6 separate regions of the Homo sapiens genome follow, and all the other regions are linked to region 1. The links are contacts of gene promoters, found by promoter capture Hi-C in blood cells and fetal thymus (Javierre and others, 2016). All regions are on one chromosome and are shown on one strand. The core of a region is centred on a gene start or on the middle of the fragment in contact, and the rest is flanking DNA. Distances in the headings are between cores, read along the strand shown.

What was found. The method cuts DNA at HindIII sites, captures the fragments that hold promoters and counts their contacts. A CHiCAGO score of 5 or more calls a contact.
Region 2: a fragment that was not itself captured here is called in contact with the fragment with the promoter of PDX1 in region 1 in 4 of 17 cell types (activated CD4 T cells, non-activated CD4 T cells, M1 macrophages and 1 more); the score reaches 6.9 in activated CD4 T cells.
Region 3: a contact is called between a fragment that was not itself captured here and the fragment with the promoter of PDX1 in region 1, in 4 of 17 cell types (total B cells, naive B cells, M2 macrophages and 1 more). The highest score is 8.5, in total B cells.
Region 4: a fragment that was not itself captured here is called in contact with the fragment with the promoter of PDX1 in region 1 in 1 of 17 cell types (M2 macrophages); the score reaches 6.2 in M2 macrophages.
Region 5: a fragment that was not itself captured here is called in contact with the fragment with the promoter of PDX1 in region 1 in 1 of 17 cell types (M0 macrophages); the score reaches 5.3 in M0 macrophages.
Region 6: a fragment that was not itself captured here is called in contact with the fragment with the promoter of PDX1 in region 1 in 1 of 17 cell types (M2 macrophages); the score reaches 5.4 in M2 macrophages.

The regions. Positions count from the first base shown.
Region 1 is chr13:27,918,065-27,921,379 of GRCh38, forward strand. PDX1 (pancreatic and duodenal homeobox 1) reads left to right here and starts at 1,936. Exons shown (of 2, transcript NM_000209.4): 1 at 1,936-2,480. The coding sequence starts at 2,075. The HindIII fragment of the contact is 8,603 bases long and covers 1-3,315 here.
Region 2 is chr13:26,950,881-26,954,287 of GRCh38, forward strand. No RefSeq gene overlaps it. Among named protein-coding and RNA genes, the nearest start is that of USP12-AS1, 170 kb to the right of the region's middle. The HindIII fragment of the contact is 4,808 bases long and covers 1-3,407 here.
Region 3 is chr13:27,360,218-27,363,462 of GRCh38, forward strand. No RefSeq gene overlaps it. Among named protein-coding and RNA genes, the nearest start is that of GTF3A, 63 kb to the right of the region's middle. RefSeq lists an enhancer at 2,137-2,638. The HindIII fragment of the contact is 5,719 bases long and covers 1-3,245 here.
Region 4 is chr13:27,380,503-27,383,861 of GRCh38, forward strand. No RefSeq gene overlaps it. Among named protein-coding and RNA genes, the nearest start is that of GTF3A, 42 kb to the right of the region's middle. RefSeq lists an enhancer at 430-1,117. The HindIII fragment of the contact is 3,986 bases long and covers 90-3,359 here.
Region 5 is chr13:27,004,607-27,008,181 of GRCh38, forward strand. No RefSeq gene overlaps it. Among named protein-coding and RNA genes, the nearest start is that of USP12-AS1, 120 kb to the right of the region's middle. The HindIII fragment of the contact is 3,162 bases long and covers 70-3,231 here.
Region 6 is chr13:27,295,954-27,299,656 of GRCh38, forward strand. No RefSeq gene overlaps it. Among named protein-coding and RNA genes, the nearest start is that of RASL11A, 27 kb to the left of the region's middle. The HindIII fragment of the contact is 547 bases long and covers 1,719-2,265 here.

The DNA of each region.
Region 1 (3,315 bases), core at 686-3,185:
TTTGTCCTGAGCGGAGCTTGCCGTCCGCTCATAACCGCGTCGCCAAGTCAACCCTCGGCGACTCGGCAGATTATCTCCAAGGGTCAACACGCCGCGGCCAGGCAACCCCCTCCAGCCTGCCCTCCTGATCGATGTGGTCACTCGCGGCCAGGGTGATAGGGTAGAGTTCTCCGCGGCCGCAGACAATGGACTCATTGACGCGGGCGCACAGAGATTAGGTGCCCGGGCCCCACGGCCTTTCACTCTCTGCCCCCACCAAAACTGCAGGTGGCACTTTTCCCTGAAGAAATCACCGAAACTCTCCCCGCCCGCCGCCGTGCTTCCCTTGGCCTGTCTTCGGTGACAGCAAGGGCATCTACAAGCCAGGGAGCCACACATCAGAGCCACACACATGAGGCCACAGGCCAGGAAGCCACACACATGAGTTCTCACACATCGAAGCAAATGCTGAGACTATACCGGCCTCCCGCAAGAGAAGGAATCTGCAGAGAAGTCCACATTCCCGACTGGCTTTTTTGTCTTTTAATAAAAATAAAGAGTCCTCAGAATAGAGCACTCAATCCGCACTTAAAACACAAATATTTCCAGTAGGAAGAAAGAAATACATTAAGATTGACTCTCAAAGGTCTGGATGTTGGTGCGTTGTTTAGGAAAGGCGGAGCAGTGATTTTTCTCTGGCTTGGTTCTTTGTGGTTCAAGCTCTCTCTTGCTGAGACGTTTCTGCAAAGCTGTCTAGTTTTTCTAAAACCCACGGTGGCGTTTCGAGAAACGTCCTCATTTCGGGAGTATCCAGTCAGAGGCTGGTCAGGCCGCCAGGCCTAGCGGATCATGCCCAGGCAGGGGGTTGGACGTCACCGCCACCCGGAGGTCATCCATCCGCGTCAGTGGGTGCAGAAAAAGTGGCCCTGTTTAAGTCAGGACCCCAGAATGCCCAGAAGTTACTGAATGGTTTGAAGCCAAGCACAGATGTTATCATGGAAAATGCAGCGTTTTTATTTCTTTTTCTAAATATGTAACTCTTCCTCCACTTCCCCCTCTCCTGCTTGCCTTATTTCAATTGCAAGCAGAAGAGAGTGAGTGTTCTCTGCCGGCAAACTCCGCCAGGGTCCCGGCCCGTAGAGAGTCGTCAAGGGTCTGGAACCCCCGTGCCAACACCTGCCCCTGCTTCGCAGCCCCAAGAGGAAGGCCGCGTCTTTCCCCCTCGCTGTATTGGGAAGCTACGTTCCGGGCTGGCCAAATGGGCCCCAATTTTCCAAAACCCAAATTTGTAATACCCTTCAATTTTTTAAAAAAAAGAATTTAAAAAAGTCTCTGTGAATGCTTCAGAAGTTACCGTTTACACCCCAGAAGTACTTGCAGCACATCCACAAGTAAAAACACACAACGAATGCCAGAGTTTCGTGTGTTTTTTAACCGACATCTTTGTGGCTGTGAACAAACTTCATAAATAAAATAGAATCAAATGCTTCTGACCTAGAGAGCTGGGTCTGCAAACTTTTTTTTTATCGTATTCCGCAACAGTTAAATAAAAAATTAAAAACTCAACATGTCTCCTTGTAAACTACATCAATTAACAAACACACTATGTCCATTATCAAATATAATAGAAAAAATATAGGAAAATAGAAAATAGAAAAATATAGGAAAATAGAAACTTTTAAGCCACGGTGAAAATGTTTCTATAAATGAGTGGTTCTAATGTTTTCGTGAGCGCCCATTTTGGGGAGCACCGCCAGCTGCCCGTTCAGGAGTGTGCAGCAAACTCAGCTGAGAGAGAAAATTGGAACAAAAGCAGGTGCTCGCGGGTACCTGGGCCTAGCCTCTTAGTGCGGCCAGCCAGGCCAATCACGGCCCCCGGCTGAACCACGTGGGGCCCCGCGGAGCCTATGGTGCGGCGGCCGGCCCGCCGGTCCGCGCTGGCTGTGGGTTCCCTCTGAGATCAGTGCGGAGCTGTCAAAGCGAGCAGGGGTGGCGCCGGGAGTGGGAACGCCACACAGTGCCAAATCCCCGGCTCCAGCTCCCGACTCCCGGCTCCCGGCTCCCGGCTCCCGGTGCCCAATCCCGGGCCGCAGCCATGAACGGCGAGGAGCAGTACTACGCGGCCACGCAGCTTTACAAGGACCCATGCGCGTTCCAGCGAGGCCCGGCGCCGGAGTTCAGCGCCAGCCCCCCTGCGTGCCTGTACATGGGCCGCCAGCCCCCGCCGCCGCCGCCGCACCCGTTCCCTGGCGCCCTGGGCGCGCTGGAGCAGGGCAGCCCCCCGGACATCTCCCCGTACGAGGTGCCCCCCCTCGCCGACGACCCCGCGGTGGCGCACCTTCACCACCACCTCCCGGCTCAGCTCGCGCTCCCCCACCCGCCCGCCGGGCCCTTCCCGGAGGGAGCCGAGCCGGGCGTCCTGGAGGAGCCCAACCGCGTCCAGCTGCCTTTCCCATGGATGAAGTCTACCAAAGCTCACGCGTGGAAAGGCCAGTGGGCAGGTAAGCCTGGCTCCCCACCCCTTTCTCCTTTCCGGTTCTCACCCGGCCGCCTTACCTCCAAGCGCTCCCAGGAGCCTTCTCTCTGTTCCCGGCGCCTTGGATTATCCCGGGTCGGACTAAACTACATCAGGGAGCTACCGAGCCCATCCCTCACAGCAGTGCTTCTCTAGTCCAGTTTGAAGCATCTTTCCCACCCAGCTCTCCTGGGAGTGTACACTCCTTCCTTCCCTGTTCGCTGAGCCCATCTTCGCCCCAGGAGCCCGCGCTCCCAGCGCCATCCTTAGAGAGCCGAGGCTGAGTCCTGCTCAGGGCTTCGGACACTACAGATCCTCCTCCAGCAGGGGATCCGGGAACCCAGGACTCCTTGGTAGTGCACATCGAGGAAGCCGAGTAGGGACATGGGTGCCTCGGACCCAGGCCCCAGATCGCCTTCGGAGCCCCGGAGCCCCTCACTTCCCGCGCTTCGTTAAGGAAGGGCAGGCATCTAGGGGCGCCAGGTAGGTGCAGAAAGGCAGGGAGGGAAAGGAAACTGCACCCAACCCAGCAGTGTCCGGCTGCCCTGGTTGTGGAAACAGGATAGGAGTAAAGAGGAAGGGGCTGGGGCAAGGCGGGGGCTCACCGCGAGGCTGAAAGCCGGCCTCTCAACGTCAGAGCCTGGCAGCTAGGAGAGCAATCTGAGAAGCGAATTCGTTTTTCACCAACCGAAAGCAATTGAAGCTGTCTCCCCGCACCGCTTCCCAGGAAGTAATTTTTCAGGAGATGGGCGCTCCCTGCCTAGCTGGTGGGGAGGCGAGAGGCCTGGTTCCTGCGGCCCTCCGCGCCGGCAGAGAACAGA
Region 2 (3,407 bases), core at 243-2,742, 970 kb before region 1:
GCACCCAGGTGTTTAATAAGCACTTCTAGAATGAGGTAGGAAGTAAGGAGACACTGAACCAGAGAAAGTGTGACTTTTCACATTTGAGACTTAGGGCTCTTGGTTTTCACACACAGGGTCAGGTATCAGGGGCCCAGCCAGTAGTTCCCCAATCTGAGCGCGTGAACGCTGCTGCACACTCCCTGACTGGGGAGGCCTGCGGAAGGGCCCCAGGAAACACACTTTGTTGTTGTTGTTGTTGTTGAGACAGAGTCTCGCTCTGTCACGAGGCTGGAGCGCAGTGGCGCGATCTCGGCTCAGTGCAAACTCCGCCTCCCGGGTTCAAGCGATCCTTCTGCTTCAGGCTCCCGAGTAGCTGGGACTACAGGCGTGTGCCACCATGCCCAGCTAATGTTTGTGTTTTTAGTAGAGAGGAGTTTCACCATGTTGGCCAGGATGGTCTCGATCTCTTGACCTCATGATTCGCCCACCTCAGCTTCCCAAAGTGCTGGGATTACCGACAGGAACCACTGCGCTCAGCCAAAACACACTTTTAACAAGCACACCAGCCAACTGCAAATGTTCAAATAACTTGGTTTCAGCAGAGGCTACTTTTCTCCCGTGGCCAGGTGCAGAGAGGCCGATGTGCACATCTGCTGCTAAGCTCCACCTGGGGTTTCCTGCTGCCAGGCTGTGGGTTCCAGGAAGGCCTGGCCCAGGACCCTAAATCTTTGCCATCTCTGCCTCTAGTGGCCCTGCAGAACTCGAATCGGGAATAAAGACCGCAGCACCACGGCACACACAGGTGAAGCCCAGGTGACAGGTTGTGCCAGCTCCTGCTCATGCTCCCTGTTGCTAGGGATTGTGAAACAGGCAGGGGCGACCAGCCCCGTGCCAGCCCAGCGGTCTAAATGTTCCAAAGGTGACAAGGCCCAAGGCAGGGCCTCTTGAATAAGCCCCCATGAGTCTGATCACTCACGCCAACAGAAGCTGCTTATCTCTTGAACTTTCAGCCTGCTAATTCCAACCAAGGTACATATCGCTTAGCTTTGGGCAATAAAAAGAAAAAAAAGTGTGTTTATCTGCTGTAGCTAAATCCAGTCTCTCCCAGATGACTCTGCTGTAGGCCTATTTCCTTGTTCTCCAAGTTCCAGTTTCTATAGTCAAGGCCAGCCAAAGAGCACAGCTCACCCAATGGCCTGAGAACTTGGCCAGCCCGAACGCCCTGAGCCCAGTTACCCAGAGGCCCCATCCAAGATCACAGCCAAGGTCAGGAGCTGGTGCTCCGGAGGCCATTGGCTTCCAGGCCCTCCATCCCATAAATAATGGGTTGCTGGTCAACCGGAATTCAAAAGGGGTTGATGTTATCTGAGTAAACCCGTTGTTGAAGCCAGATAGGGCCTTCGGGGTGTCTGCAAAGACTAGAGCCCAAAAAAGCCTCCACCTGACACTGAGTTAGGACCTAGAGTCCCAGTGGCACAGACCAGTCCTGAACCAGCCCACGACACCCCTGCTGCTACCATCTCCTCCCTGCCCTGGGACCTGGGATCTGGTTGTCAGCACCGCCATGCAGGGGAAATGGATCGGCAACAAGCAGAATGTCCATGCTTCCCCGTGGCCCTGGAGAGAAGGGGCCAGATGGAGAATGAGCCAGCTTTTGGCAAACACATGGACTCAATGTTCTGGAGTCTGCCCCTCACTAGGAGTCCATTCCAGGCCTAAGGCAGCTCACCTTGGCTCTGTTTGGTTTTGCCATTGACAGAGGCTCGGATCAACTGTGGACACGTGGGAAGGGTGGAGTGGGGACAAGGACACCGCGCTGGCTATTCCTTAGCACAGCAGCCCCAGAGGTGCATCTTCACAGAGGAGGTGCCATGGCCCCACTGTCCAAGGGCCAACCCTCTCTGCTCAGCCCTCGTGCCAACTCCCACCTTGGTCAAAGGCGGACAAGGGCCCTGTAGATCCTCGTGTGTGAAGCGAGTCATTTTGCTGGGATGGAGCTGCTCAGATACAGGCTACCACCCAGGGTGCCCCCTTGCAGTGTGGCACCGAGCACAGCCATCTTTTAGAAACACGTCAGTGCTTGAGGTGAATCAGCTGAATTGTGGTTTGGCAGTTATATTTTCTCCAGAAGCAGCATGATTGGACAACAGGTGCGACTGTCTGCAGAAAGCAAAGGCCCCACCAGGGCATCTAGAAAAAAGGGTTGGTTTCCACAGCACCAGAAACAGCAGCCTTTAGGCACCCAGGGCCCCGGACCTAGAGAGATCTGGGGACCAGAATGGGTGATGGGCTGGGAATGCAGTCCTGGGGCTACCTGTCCCTGTTCCTGCCCCTGGGCACCAGGTGGTCCCAGCATGCAGACTCCCACCCTGGCTGTGCCCTGCCTTAAGGAGAAGGGAAGGGAGGGGGGCCTCCCACACAGATTTCTTTGGCCCAGTGGCACATCTCATTGTCTCCTCACTCAGCATCCACTGAAGGCTCAGATACTGCGGGGCATTAATGATGCTGTAAGGTAATAAGGCCAGACGCTGCTCGTGTGAGAGCAAGCACTTGATAAAAGGGAGATTTACAGCCACATCCATCAACTTAATTATCTTTTACTAGAGTTTAAACTTAGTAGTAATCCTAATCTCTATTTAGTACGGTTTACAGGATCTATGGACACTTTACAATCTTCCTCTATTGGCAAGTGTCAAATTATGGCAATATTGATAAAACGGTGGAGTAAATGGGAGGTGAGACAACTCCAGAACCAGCTAATATGCATTTTACTGCACTGTAAAAGCCTATGACTCTCTGATTTCAGATGAAAATTTGTAGCCAATAATCAGAGCTGATAATGTTTCGGAAACAATTCTATGGGTCATAAAAGTCCCCTTCATGGCCTTCTACAACATGGACCTGACCATGAGTAGCGGGGAGCGTGGGGCGTGAGCAGGCTCCCTCCTGATGGCCTGCTGCCTTGGCCAAGGACAGGGCTGGGGGCCTTTGATGCTCTTCCACAGGAAAGGGTGCTGGACCACCCTGACCCCGGGCCACCCGACTCACCTGCTTCTAGCAACCTGTGTGGGCTTCTCTTGCAAAGAGACCGTTTTCCAGAGGACCTCATAGGAAAAAGCCTGCTACACTTTCCAAGGGATAGGATAAAGGAGCAGCTGGACCAGTTGCCCTTGGACTGTCTCCAGCCAGCTAGGCAGCCACATAGAGGGGATCTTAGGGCCAATATTATGGCTTTGAGCCCAGTACACCTGAAAAGAACCAGTGCCTTCACAGAAGTCACTCTATTTCTTTCTAATCCACTAACCTTTTGCTGTCAGCCCTGTCCATTTTCCCTAATACCGCTTGACGGTGTTCAGTTTAGACTTTCTCTATCTGGAAAACAGTGTCAAAATCATTGATGCTTCCTGACTTGAGTTACTTGGTAC
Region 3 (3,245 bases), core at 506-3,005, 560 kb before region 1:
TTTCATCTTGGGAAAACATTCTTTTCTGCAGGGGAAGATACTGTTTTGAAATTGCATTTCAGTTACTTACTTACACATCTGGTACTCCCTCCTATTGTATGGAAGTGCCAGTTTCTCTCATAAAAAATACCTCATGTTCTAGAATGATACCTGCACAGGTAAGATGCTCAACTCATGTCTTTCCTCCTCTTCCTGCAGACACACAGCAGGGTGTCCCATTCAAACCTAACCTTGTTCTTGCCTCAGGGGTCCTCCTTGGAATGCTCACTCTGCACCCAAGCTGGCTTTTCAGAGTCATTCAGAGCCACTCTAAGGGATCCCTTTTCACTGGGCCCTCTCAACTATAAAATCATCACCAGACATTTCATCTCCCTTGTAACAGCTACACTCATCAGTGTAGCTGATTTCTCGTCTCCTTATTTCTCATCTGCCTCTCCCAGCTACCATGCATGCATCATTAACATTCCATGTTTGTTCTCTGCTTTCTTGGCAACAAATAGTGCCTGCACCTCGGAGGCACTCAGTACTTATTTGTTGAATGAATCAACTAATTCCATCTTTAAGAACTGGGTTCCGGCCAGGCGCAGTGGCTCACTCCTATAACCCCAGCACTTTGGGAAGCTGAGGCGGGTGGATCACCGGAGGTCAGGAGTTCGAGACCAGACTGGGCAACAGAGTGAAACCCCATCTGTACTAAAAATACGAAAATTATCTGGACTTGGTGACGGGCACCTGTAGTCCCAGCTACTTGGGAGACTGAGGCAGGAGAATCGCTTGAACCCAGGAGACGGAAGTTGCAGTGAGCCGAAATCATGCTACTGCACTCCAGCCTGGGCGACTGAGACCGTGTCAAAAAAAAAAAAAAAAAAAAAAGAAGAAGAAGAACTGGGTTCCTCTGCCAGCACAGCTGCCCATCCCATCGTGTGCTGGACCAGGGACCAGGGAATGAGAGGAATGACAAAGATGCCTGTGTCCCCCTTTAAGCCGTTATTTTGCAGGAAGCAGTGAGATGGTTGAACATATAGATTGGCATGTTTTCGAGGTGCTCACTGACTTTATTATTTGGCTCACTGAGCAGCTGTCCAATGAGGCTGGGTTTAGATTGTTTTGGGAAGAGATTCATATCCTTCTCCAATTACCTTTTCCAAGTTAGTCAGCCATTGCTGGTCGGTTCCCTCCACTATGAAGTTGTGTGTGTGTTTGTGTGCTCGCACCCTGCCCCCATAACCCAGGTGCGGGCTGAGGAGAGGAAGCATGTTTTATTTATTATTTTTATTTATTTATTTCTGAAATTCAGTTTTTTTTTTTTTGAGAGGGAGTCTCGCTCTATCACCCAGGCTGGAGTGCAGTGGTGCGAACTCGGCTCACTGCAACCTCCGCCTCTGGGTTCAAGTGATTCTCCTGCCTGAGCTTCTGGGACTACAGGCACCCGCCACCACGCCCAACTAATTTTTGTATTTCTAGTAGAGACAGGGTTTCACCGTGTTGGCCAGGCTGGTCTTGAACTCCCGACCTCAAGTGATCCGCCCTCCTCGGCCTCTCAAAGTGCTGGGATTACAGGTGTGAGCCATCTCGTCCGGCCTCTGTCGTGTGTGTGTGTGTGTGTGTGTGTGTGTGTGTGTGTGTGTGTGTGTGTGTGTGTGTAGAGAAGGGGTCTTGCTATGTTACCCAGGCTGGAGTGCAGTGGCCCGATCATAGCTTCCTGCAACCTCGATCAACCTCGATCTCCTGGGCTCAAGCGACCCTAGAGGAAGGGCGTTTCAGTATGGGCACTTCTTAGGAAATCTTCGCTGCTTTGGAGACTAAAAGAGCCCAAAGGCAGGTAGGTGAGCCGCGGATACAAGCCTCCCTGTCTCCCTGTTGTTGCATACAGGTCTCACAGGAAACTAAGTGAGGAGTAGGGAGGGCAGTGGGTTAGGAACAGCGATGGCCAGCAGATGGCGCCAGGCCCCAAGGCATGACCCGCTGGCCGCAGGCGCGCCTAGGAGTGGCCGCGAAGCTAGTCCCCAAACAAAGCTGGAGCCAATGCGCTCTCTGGGGTCCTTCACATCCTGCTACTCAACGACCTGAAGGTAATCAGCTACTTCCTGGCTCTGGGGCTTCACCTTTTAATGAGCCTGGTTAGCCGGTTTTGTTTTCTTTTGGGGGACGTGCGTGTGGTTTGTGACCCCTTTTTCCGTTGGCTCTCAGAGTCCAGAGCTCCCCGGGGTCCGCCCTGACCCGTGGCTCCGCCTCGCCTCGCTCCCGCGCCCAGAGCGGCGCTCACAGGTCGGTCGCTGCCTGCACAGAGGTCTGTCCTGGACCTCTTAGGTTGGACTGTCCCCTCTCTCCCTGTCGCCGCTGCTGTTTGGGGACTTGGACGCCCCTCTGCAGAGGCGGGGGGCCTTGCCTCCGGCCCCATCTGACATCTTCCTTGAAGAATCGCTGCCTCACCTAGATGTCCTTTGGGTGGCGCAGTTCGTTGGCCTTCTAGGAAGGCTGGTTGCCAAGAGCAGGGCTTTTGCTCAGGGCCCCGGTGGCTGACGATTGTGTCCTGCGTGGGATAATCGAAAGTGTGCACAAGTCACTCACTGATCAGACGTCCCAGGGAGACCGAGGGGTGGGTGCAGCTTGATGGAACCTCTTCTCCAGGCCAGCAGAGGGAGGGAAGGCAGGCCTGCCCCACCACGCCTGTCCCCAAGAACCCCGTCTTAAGCCAGCTCATAAATCTCCCATCACTCCTTCCGTGTGTCCTGGCTTCCCTCCTCAGCTCGGAGCAGTGGACATTTCCACCTGCAAGGTGAACTGTGCCCTACTGTGCCAACCGACAGGGATCAGGGGAAGGTGGACAGAGGGGCTGCACCTCTGTCCTTTACCCCCGCCATCCCCCACCAACCCCAGGTCAGATCTCCATTCCCACAATAAACTGTACCTAGCGGGGTGCAGGTGTGGTTTAAGGACATTCTCCTGGCCAGAGCCAGTGGCCTGCAGTGTGGTCTTCCCTAGATGTCCTCGCTGCAGGCATGAGGCCATGCCAGGTGGCCAGGCTAGGCTCTCAGGGGTGGTCCTGCTGTCTATGATGTGTGGGGAGCAGGCCTGGAGGAACTAAAGAGATGCAGGGACAAACATTTCCCAAAGGCCTGATGACATTTACTGGATTCAGCTGCCTTCATAAGCCTGCGTTTCTAGCTTTCAGTGTTTCTGGGGTTAACTTTAAAACAAAATCAAACCAAAAAAGGTTGTTATTATATACTGTGATTGTCCAC
Region 4 (3,359 bases), core at 833-3,332, 540 kb before region 1:
AGTCAGCCTGTTTAGCAAACGCGAGGGTCTGACACCTCCTCTCTCCACACTCCCAGCCTCAGCCTGCCAGTTCCAGTGGTTTCTTTCAAAGCTTTCACTGCAGTCCCCTGAACAAATACTTTTTTCCCAAGAGGCGTTCCCCAGGCTGAAACAAGGGGAAGTAAATGTGACCCCACTGCATTGCCTCCCACAAGTCATTCTGCCTCCTTCATCCTGTCCTGGTCTTTGTCCTGTCCTGGTCTTCAGGGAGCCCCTGGGAGGGAGACCTGTGTCTGCAGCGGCCAGTGTCTAGCAGAGGTGGTGCCTCTATCCAAAGCCATGGCCCACTCTCCTGAGTGCGAGTGAGCCCCAAACAAACCTTGGAGAACCTTCCTGCTTTCAGGTGCCCCAGGATCCCTGAGCACTTCTGCCCATCTAGCCTCCTAGAGGAAGCCCAGTCGGGGGGGGGGTGGGGGAGGGGCGGTAGGGGAGTTAGCACCCTCTTGAGAAAAGCGGCAGGCAGGCAGCAAAGGAGAGAAGGATGCTAGCTGGAGTCTGTTCAGCCCAGGTGCCTGGGGAGGGTCCTCAGTGTCTGCAGCGGAGTCTGGATGTCCCTGCAATGGGCAGAGCCCCACATTGGGCAGGGCGGAGCTGGCTTGTTGAGGAGTCCTACCTGCCTCCACCATTCCCTGAGTGCTGAGTGGCGTGTGGGCTTTGTCTGGATGGCTGAAGGAACAGAACAGTACCTGTGGTATCCTTCTTTATCCCAGCCCCGCTGGACCCGGCCCCTATAAGGCAGTGTGGTAGGTGAACCCCCAGAGGACACCCTCAGACCCTCTTCTCGTTCCTGGGGGCGGGGGACGTGCTGTAGCCTGACCCCAGGAACATTGGGATTCCTACCTGTCCTATCCCCCCCTCCTGTGGGGGCAACCAGCCCCAGCTGAGGGGTACCAGATGTGAGAGTCGGAAGCGCACCCTCACCCTCCCTTCCCAGCAGCTGGCTAGAAGGCCTCTCTTAAAAGGCCTGGGTACCTGGCCGTGGGGTGTGGGGAGGAAGGAAGGGAGTGGGAGAGAATTAGACAAAGGAAGCCCACCATAAAACCAGCAGCAGGTCTGTAATCGTGACAGCCCTTTGTTTAGAGCCGGTTTAAACAAGTTGTGATCCTTTGGAAGGGGAGGCCATAAACCGAGGGGTGAAATAAAAGTGTTTACAGCAAGGGAGACCCAGGTGCTGGGGGGTTCGTTTGGCCAGGATCAATGCGGGAGCGGGGCCGGTGCGGCCTGGCCTGGCCTGGGCTTGGAGAATGGGCTTCCTCTTAGTGCCGGGCGGCTCCAACATCACAGACTCAAGCCCGACGAGGGGCGGCCCTCCCCACCCACACCTGCAGTCGAGGGGCAATCCCACATTCCAACCTGGGGGCACGGGGCAGGAGCCCGGGTCTGCACCATCTAGAGATTAATTGCCTGGGGCCGCAGAGCTTACAGTCAGCTTCTCTGCTTCTCTACAAATTCCTTCATAATGGACTTGAGGGAGTTACACTAATAAGAGGGTGTGAGGACAGTTGTTTCTCACAGACATGCCTCTTAGTCCCCACTTATCAGGCTGGGAAAGTTAGGGTTAGGGCCCGAGGGAGTAATATGGTTATATCTGACATGTCCCCAGCCCTGAGCCCCCCACACCTACCACCATTTCTGTCCTCCGCTCTGTTTAGCAATGCTGAATACATAAACATCACACAATCAGTCAGTCATTCCGTAAGTTTAACGAGCACTTCCGGTAGGGCAGACAACCAGGGCAGGGGCCACAGAGGTACAGGACACAGTCTCTGTCCTGAAAGTAGGGCAGTTTGGGGATAACTAGCAATAATATTCTCAGGACATGTCAGCTGGCATATACTCATGTTTTTAAAATAATTAATGCTCCCCAAGAATATATGTGTCCATGCAACACGATACCTTTGGAGAATGGCAGTACCAAATAAGACTAACATGGTCCTTGGAAGAATATCGTGCTGATGTCCTCCCCACGTAATTTGTTGTTTGTGCTCAGCAGGAAATGTTGCCAGACTTTTCTGCAAAAATTCACACTGAGGTCACACCTATACTAATAAGGAAAATGAGTAGTCAGAGGCACAAGACGGATCAGGCCCCTATTCTCCCTTAAGACATTTGTATGGCTCTTTAGCTTGCAACATTTGTGGAAGTGGGGCAACTACGTGGGGGCCTCTTAAAGAGAAAAGTCCCCATGAAAATGTCCCTTCTGTCGTTCATGTATTCAATTCTTGGATCAGCCTGGCCAGTTAAAGAGATGAGCTTTGTTCTGTAATACCCAATATGTTTTCTTCATTAGGAGAACAGTTCAGAAAATAAGCAAAGATGCCAGTTTCATCTTTAAAATGACTTCATTTTTTATAAATTGATTTCAAACACATTCTAGTCTGAGCCTGGCCACTCTGGTGACCTCCCTAGGACCATTTCCTTATTTGTAAAATAATCATATTTATAATCTCTGCATTCCTGCTTCGTTAATAACAACAACAAAACCCAAATAGGATTCTAAGTAGCATAGTGGCCTGATCAATTGCGCTGGTGGGAATCACATTCCTAATCACACAGTTAGGAAACATTTCGCGCCCTCCAGCATTTGGTAATATATACCATTTACTGGTGTAAGAGGCACGGGCCCCTCTGTCTCTTTCAGTGATTGATGCAAATTCTCTACTCTCCCAAAGCTCAGCTCCCTGGGGGAGAAGTCCTGGAGACTGTCCTTACTGTGCACTGTGAGGTTCAATAGGTGGCAGCAGCCTTTATCTCTGATGGCTGGCATCTTGCTGCCTTTGCTGAACCGGTTCCTGTGGGAACCGGTCTCCCCATTGCTCTAAGGCAGGAGTGTGTGTCCTTCAACTGTGATGCTGAGCCATTGCATCAGGAGCCTCTCAGATACATAGCTGCTGGAGGAGGACCAACCCTTGATATGGGGGTGCTGGGAAGGGAAGAGCGTGGTCCCTTTAAATGATACAGAAGGGGGTAAGGGAAGTGCAGGGTAGAGGAGGGCGTGGTCCCTGGCTAGGGCTCCACCCCCATGGACCTTGGTGAGGACAGGCATTTTTGTTGCATTTCCCAAGACCACCCTGGCCGACCTTCCACACCCTTATCCTGGACCTATAAAAACCCGAGACCCTAGCAGGCAGACACACAAGCCGCTGTACGTGGAGAAAAACAAATCGATGAAAGAAGACAAGCGGCTGGACATCGAGAGACATCAAGGGGAGCATGCCGGCAGAAGAGCACTCAGACAGATGCTGGCAGGCCATTGACCCGCGGAAGGAGGCGGAGTTTGGACGGGGCAGTCTGAGGAGAGCCTAGGCCGCCAGGTGGCC
Region 5 (3,575 bases), core at 401-2,900, 910 kb before region 1:
TCAATCTCAGATTTCAAATCAAAACCCATTTTTAAATGCTTCATCACAGTTATTCCACTTCTAAACCCAAGCTTTCCCAGGTCCTTTGACATGGGAGGTGGTAACTTTTCTTAAGGGACACCGAAAAACAGCATCTTTGAATTCCCTAAGGGGAGATCTTGACATATAAAAGGTGCTTGTTCTTTATCACGTGGTTGTTTGCAGTTAGGCCTTTGGTTAAATTTTTGAGGGTTGTTTAACAATAACCAATTACAAAAGATAAATGAGGTTAGCACTGTTATATAAAAGGACAAGTCTCACACAGAACTGGAATCCTCTACTGTAATCTGCTTTTCTGAGCCCTGGATTCAAAGATCTGAAAGTCTTGTGGCTCCCATCATGAGAATGGGGTGTTCCAAGGCAGTCAGCCCAGCTGGTCCCATCTCAGTGAGCCGCCACCACCAATGCACTGGCTCACCAAACTCCGCCTCCTCCCCATCACCCCACCTCCTCATTAAACCAGCACCTCACCTGCACCATCGTGTCTCCTCAAGGCAGACCTGTCTCCTCTGCCCCATTCCCACCAATCGTGCCTCAGTTCCATCTCTTCTTGTCCCACTGAGATTACGATAAAGGGGCCCTGTCTCTCTTTGTCTCTCTGTCTCTGTCAATCTCTCTCTCTCTCTCTCTCTCTCTCTCTCTCTCTCTCTCTCTCTCATCTGTGTGTGTTGTTCCTGGTGGATTGCTCTATAACACAAACCTGCTTCACATCCTCAGGAGCCCCCTAAGCACCTTCAGGATGCAAGGCTGATCCAGGGACCCCACTGGCCTCTGCCCACCCTCCCAGGTCCCCACCTCACAAACAGCTCACAGGATGTACACGACTCGCTCCTGTTGGAGCCACACCAGCAACTCCCTCTGCTTGTGTTTTAAAATATAGGTCATATTATTTTTCAGGTATGGTGAAGCCAATAGATCAGGAGACAACTGCTACTGAAAAGATAGCTGTGACAGATCCCGGCGGGGTGGAGATTGGGCACGCCACGCCACACAGGAAGCACCGGGGTTGCCTGGTGGCAGAGGCAGCAGGGAATACGTGGGCCAAGAGCCTTTCCTGTGGTTTCCATGGGAAGGAATGGGTGAGGGGGAGTGAGCAGGCTCAGGATTGGCTGGCTTGAGTGATTGCAGTGAGCTCTAGGGCACAGGCGCTGTCCCCAGCTGCTCGGTGCCTGGCTCTGGGGTGATCAGGGCAGGGGACTAAGGCCCTGGAATGGGAAAGCTCACACTAGCTCCTGGCCGCATCATTTGCTTTCTCTAGGAATCAGCTAACCCTGGTAGGAGCAGTCCCTTCCAGGTCAGCAAGTCCCCAGATGTCAAAGCATCCAATACGGAGATTAGAAAACATAGTTCACACAGCCTAGAGCATCTTTCCTTCGGCCCTGGCAAAAGGTGGGCAGAGTGGCACAGCGGAGGCTCGGGCGGCTCCCATGGCAGGCCAGCTAGGTACCCTCTCTGAACCTTGGTTCCCCTTCTATAGAGGAGGTCATGAGACAAGAGGAGGGGGAAGTGCCCAGCACAGTGCTTGGCACATGGCACTGAGTGAGTGCCAGTGTCCCCCCTTCCACCTGCGTCCTTCTGAGAAACAGCTGAGCTGCTCCTTCCCTGGGGATGTGCTTCTGCCCCTCGGTCTGGGTTCTTTGCTCCCCTCAGGCCCGGCGCTTGCCTCTGTTGCAGATTGAATGTGGCTGTGTGTCTGTCTATCTCCCCCACTGGACAAGGAGAGGGCAGGAACAGGTCATCCAGATCTGAATCCCAAGGGCCCATCACAGAGCCTGGCTCCTGGTTAAAGAGGCTTGCTCAGCTAACATTTGCAAATTTTCACTGTCTCCCAAAAGAATGTTACCTGTGGGCCCCCCTGGGGACAGGCCTCCTCTTTCCCCCCACCCCCACCCCCCGGGGCCTCCCTACTTTCCTCTGCGGGAAGTCACACCAAGCCATTAGCAGCGCGCCGCCTCCCGGGGCGGCACCAGCTGGAGAGGCCGCCTTTCAGCTCAGGAATTGATTTCCCAAGCACACCCCAGCATGTGTGCACACCAGAGACGCCTGGAGTGCTCCTGCTAAGGAGGAAAGCCGCCGTGCCGCACCTGCTGGGAAACGAGGACCTTTCTTGTCACCTCTGCCTCCCCTAGCAGCATCCCAGGCGCAGACCTGGACAGCTGGCTCCCGCACCTGCCCTGGGAGTGCTCCCGGCAGCAACGGCCCATGCTTTTCCAGGCTGAAGCCAACCAGGTTTCACTGAAGATCTCAGTGCATAGAAACGGATGGCATAGCACCTAGCAAGGAAGAACTACCCCATTTTTAATAACTGCTTAATGAGAAAGTGCCATTAACTGCACATAGTCTCCGTTGGTTTAACCAGCCGAGTGCCGAGTGCTGAGTGCCGAGCGCTGAGTGCCGAGCGCTGAGTGCCGCCCAGCCCCGCCCTCCTTAGGCTTGCTTACCACTCCTCCCTGCCCCTCACCCCATGGCCAGCGCCTGGGCTGCTCTGGGGGCATTCACAGGTGGGCTCCGGTTATGGAGAAGGCTGGTGCGGGGCTTCCAGCTCCAGGGACTTGTAGTTGTGGGGTCTTCTCTTTGCCACAGATTCCCTCCTCTGCTGTTGTGGGGCTTGTGACATTTATTCATGGGAAAGAGAGAGGAGATAGGAGGAGGTGGGGAGGGGACCGTGCAGCTGCTTCTGAAATGTGTGCTCTCTGGAGGGCGAGGAGCTGGGACGGAGGGAGAGACAGCTGCCGAGACAGCAGGCGTTCTAATTCCCTGATCCCACACCTGGCTTCCCGCCACATCAGTGCCTCCGATGCCTGGAGCCCTCGTGGGGGAGGCCACGGCAGCAAGGAGCAGGTTGGCAAAGCGACATTCATTCTGTCTTCTAAAAACACTCGTTCAGCTCTTTACATGGGCTGGACAGTGAGGATACAAAGAGCAAAAATAGATTTTCCTCACTGCACTTGGGTGCTAGCTGAAGAGTCAAATAAGTAATGATGCAAATAAAATGTGACACAGCATGCCTGATTCAACCTGGAGGGGACAGGGAGGCTTCCTGATGGAGGTGATGCCTTACCTCAGTCTTGAAGGAGACATGCGTTAGCCACATGAAAAAGAGAGGAAGGAGAGAACTGACCATCCAAAGGAACAAGACAAAAGGATACTGCATAACAAGAAAACTACTATACCTACGCCAAATATTTACAAAGCTTAGTCTGTAGATCCAAAGCAAGTCACATCAATTATATTAAGGTGCTCCCCAATGCAAAAAACAGAACGCCCAGCTAAATGTCACTCAAACTGGTGCTTTTCAAACTTCAGTGTGCACGCGAATCACCAGGAATCTTGATGAAGTAAAGACTCTGATTGGGAAGACCAGGGGTGGGGCCTGAGATTTTGCACGAGTTTGTTAGAAATGCAGAATCTAATTAATAACATAATTGGCCAGTACAACTGATGATACGACTGATGTGAGCTGTGGACCACACTTTGGGAAGCAAGGATCAAACATCAAGAAGTCTGATCTCTGGCCTGGCGTGGTGGCTCACGCC
Region 6 (3,703 bases), core at 742-3,241, 620 kb before region 1:
AAGATTACACAGCTGTCAAGAGGCAGACTCAACCTTCACACCCAGGCAGTCTGGCTGCAGGCTCTGCTCTCTTTGCTACTATGCCATAACTGCCCCTCACTGAGAGGCCTCTGTCTGTGGTCAGGATGGTCAAGACCACATGGAGGCCAGGAAGGTTGTTACCTGCCACAGGGACAGAACCATTGTGTCCTTCCAAAATTCATAATTCAAAACCTTCCCCACTAATGTGATGGTATTGGGAGGTGGGGCCTTTAGAGGTGATTAGAATTAGATGGGGTCCTGAGGGTGGGGCCCTCATAGCGGGATTGGTGTCCTTATAGGAAGGGACACCAGAGAGCTGGCTTCCTCTCTTTGCCCCGTGAGGACACGGTGAGGAGGTATAATCCAGGAAACAGGAGGAAGACCCTCCCCAGACATCGAATCTGCCAGAGCCTTGAGCTTGGATGTCCCAGTAACCAGAATGGCAAGAAACTACTGTTATGTAAGCCGCCTGGTCTGTTGTGTTTTGTTATAGCAGCCGGGCTGACTAAGACGACTGCCATCCCCCCCCACCAAGTGAGCACTCTGTGCCCCAAATCAAGCCCTGGAATGCCCCGAAGTCTGAGCTCCCTGGAGCCCGAGCTCCTATCCCTCCAGCTAGCATCAGCGGTTCCTGGTGTCCCTCCATCTGGTTTGGCTTCACATTCCCAGCAAAGCGGTCCAAACTAGGTCAGTAACAGCAGGAGCGGGTGGCCTGTGCTTCCTGCATCCTCCTGCTCCCTGAGCAATCTGGTCCAGTGGCTGAGAACAGTATCTCCTCAGGCTGCCGCAAAGCCCTGCTGAGGAGGACAGTGATTCAGGCTGAGTGTGTCTTAATGGTTCTGTCTGCTCCTTCTTTGCATGTATCAGAGCCTGCTGCTCCGAAGAGGTTTTCAAGCTCACGGAAACAATGGGGCTGGCAGTTTTCAGTACAGAACTTGTGCTCACCAGAGGGGAAAGGGCTCTTAGGGCAGTGAGAACCCAGGGTATGCCAGGGGAGCTTCCAACAGCAGAGAGAAAGACCTTGGATATTTGTAGCCTCAGCTCCTCACCGGCTGTATGACCCTGGAGAGTATAGTCATCACAGTAGCACTTATGGGCCACTTGTTATGAATCAGGCCCTTTGCTAAGCATTTTACATATATGGTCTCATTCAATCCTCACAACGACCTGGGGAGAGCGCCTCATTTTATGGATAAGGATATTGAGGTCCAGGGACAAGGAGGCTGAGTTATTTGCTCAAGGTCATACATTTAGTAAACAGCTAGGATTTGATCAAGATTGTTCCTTGTTCTCTCTCTCCTTTCCTCCCTCCCATCCTCCCTATCTCTCTCTCCTTTCTTTCCTCTTTCTCTTCCTTCCACTCAACAAATATTTGTAGCATCTGTCTGACGCTATGCCAACGGGGAGGTACAGTAGTGAACACGACATTTTGGTCCCCACCTGAGGCTAACTACGCTCTGTTGTCTCCCAAGCCATTTAAGCCTTTTCCTGCCAAGCCCCACATGGAGAAAGCGACCCCTGTGAGGCCCCCACTGGGGTTCAGAAAGCAATACCCCAAAGTCTGGCACTTTGATATGCGGAGAGGACTTAGAAGCTGCCCAAGAATCAAGGTCCCTGTAACCTTACCTTGTCCTCTTCCCCCTACCTACATCAAGTGCAGAGAAGAGCTCTCTGAAATTTCCTTATCTGGCCAATAAAGCTTCTTTCCAAAGGATATGAAATTGTTTTAAGACCTCCTGCCTAGGGATCCCATCAAGTAACCAGGAAAAATAAACTGAAAGAGAAGAGGCTGGGTGTTATCAACACACCCAGACAGATTTTTCATCTATTCCTTTGAGGCCAGCTCCAAGAGATGACTTGGGAGATTTTGTCTGCATAAGACACCTTTTGTTCCTGTGCAGCCCCATCCCTCACCTTCCCTAATGCCTGCCTCCCACCTCCCAGGTCCTTAAGTCTCTTCCCTATGAAGAGAGTACTTAGGCCTCAACCATCCGGCCCTCTTTGAGTTCATATTGTGTATGACTCCTGTGGGCACACATGCATGTAAATACATTTTACATGCCTGTTTCCTGTTAATCACCTTTTGTCAGTTGATTTTTCAGCAAACCTTCAGAGAACAAAGGAAAATTTTCCCTTTGCTCCCACAACCCAATGGTCTTCCCTTGGCTTTTAGGTGCATTCAGAAGTGGGAATATTGAGACTGAGAAGCATTAAGTATCTGGGCACTTGGGTACACCTGTTTGAAGCTTGGGGCAAAGTTGGGGAATCAACCTTTGGGAGTGAATGAGTTTGTCCAAAATGAAGTGTGTAGTGGGAGGACAAGAAGGGGGATGAACCAAGGGTAGAACCAGGATGGGTGGCAAGGCTGTGGGAATTAATGGATGGGTGAAGAAGAGAAAGCCTATGACAGGGCTATGAAGGAACATCAGAGAGGTGAGGGAAGAACCAGAAGAGAGCATTGTCCTAGAAGTCAGGGAAGGCGTGAGTGCCAAGTTATGGGGTGTGGTCAACAGGATTACGTGGCAGCCCGATAGTTTAGCCTTCTTCAGCGACATTTGTTTTTTTCTAATACACAGAATTCCTCCTCCTATTTCTTTTGAATTCCTTTTCCTTTTTAATAAAGTGGAAGGGAAAGCTCTGACTCCAGTCACCTGGACTCACTCCCTCAATGCCAACTCACTTTTGCCGGGTCCTTGTATATCCTTCCTGTGGTAGTCTCTCCAGTTAATGTTTGTGAAAGTAAAATTGTCAACTTATTTACCAGTTCAACTGCTAGATGGAATTGTGTTCAAGTTCCATTTATACAAAAATACCCCAAATTCTGTTTTTTGTAAGTTTTGCATCATTCTTAATGTAATGTTGCAAATACAATAAGTTTTACATTATTTTCCACTTAGAGTAGGGTTGGTGGTTTGAAACAGAATGTTCCCTTCCCTCCTGAGAATTGCCACAAATTTCCTATTCCCGGCCAGAGGGACAGCCCATTTGCAGAATGAGAAGTTTGACACACGTGAAAACCAGTGAGCAATCTAGTTAATAGCTCTGCCAGCTTCCTGGTGTTCAGAAAGATCACTCACTTGGATTCGTTCCCCAGTTAAGTGTCCTTTGCACCATGGCAGCTTTCAACATTTGAGCAAAGCTTTATCAGACAGGATTGCCATCCAGGAGAGCAGGGCATGGTTTTGTCATCAAGGTAGATACCGGGCTCTGCCATTTCCACCTCAAGGACATCCTTCCAGGTCCTCACCACGAGCTTTGGGCTCTCATTCTTCCTTCCTCACCTGGGCCCTTCACAGAACTTTCTCCGTGGGGGACGACAGCCAATATGTCTGGTGTAGCTCAAACTTCAAGTTTTGTTTTTTGAAATGTGTATGTTTTCATATGGTTAGAAATTTTTAAAAATGTAAAAAGGTATAAAGTGAAAATCTTCACTTCTCTTCCTGTATTCATCCACCCAATTTGTGCTCCTCCCCATGTACCCAAAGGTAACCGCTTGTATTAGTTTCCAGCTCAAACATTGTGCTCTCCATAGACCAGTGTCTAATCCTCCCACTGGGTCCCATTGCTCCTTTCTCTGACTTCCTAAGTTTGCTGGCACCTGTGTGAGAGAGTACCCCATGTTATAATGAGCTGTTTGCCTGTATGTTAGGGGTCAGCAAACTTTTCCTGTAAAGGGTCAGAT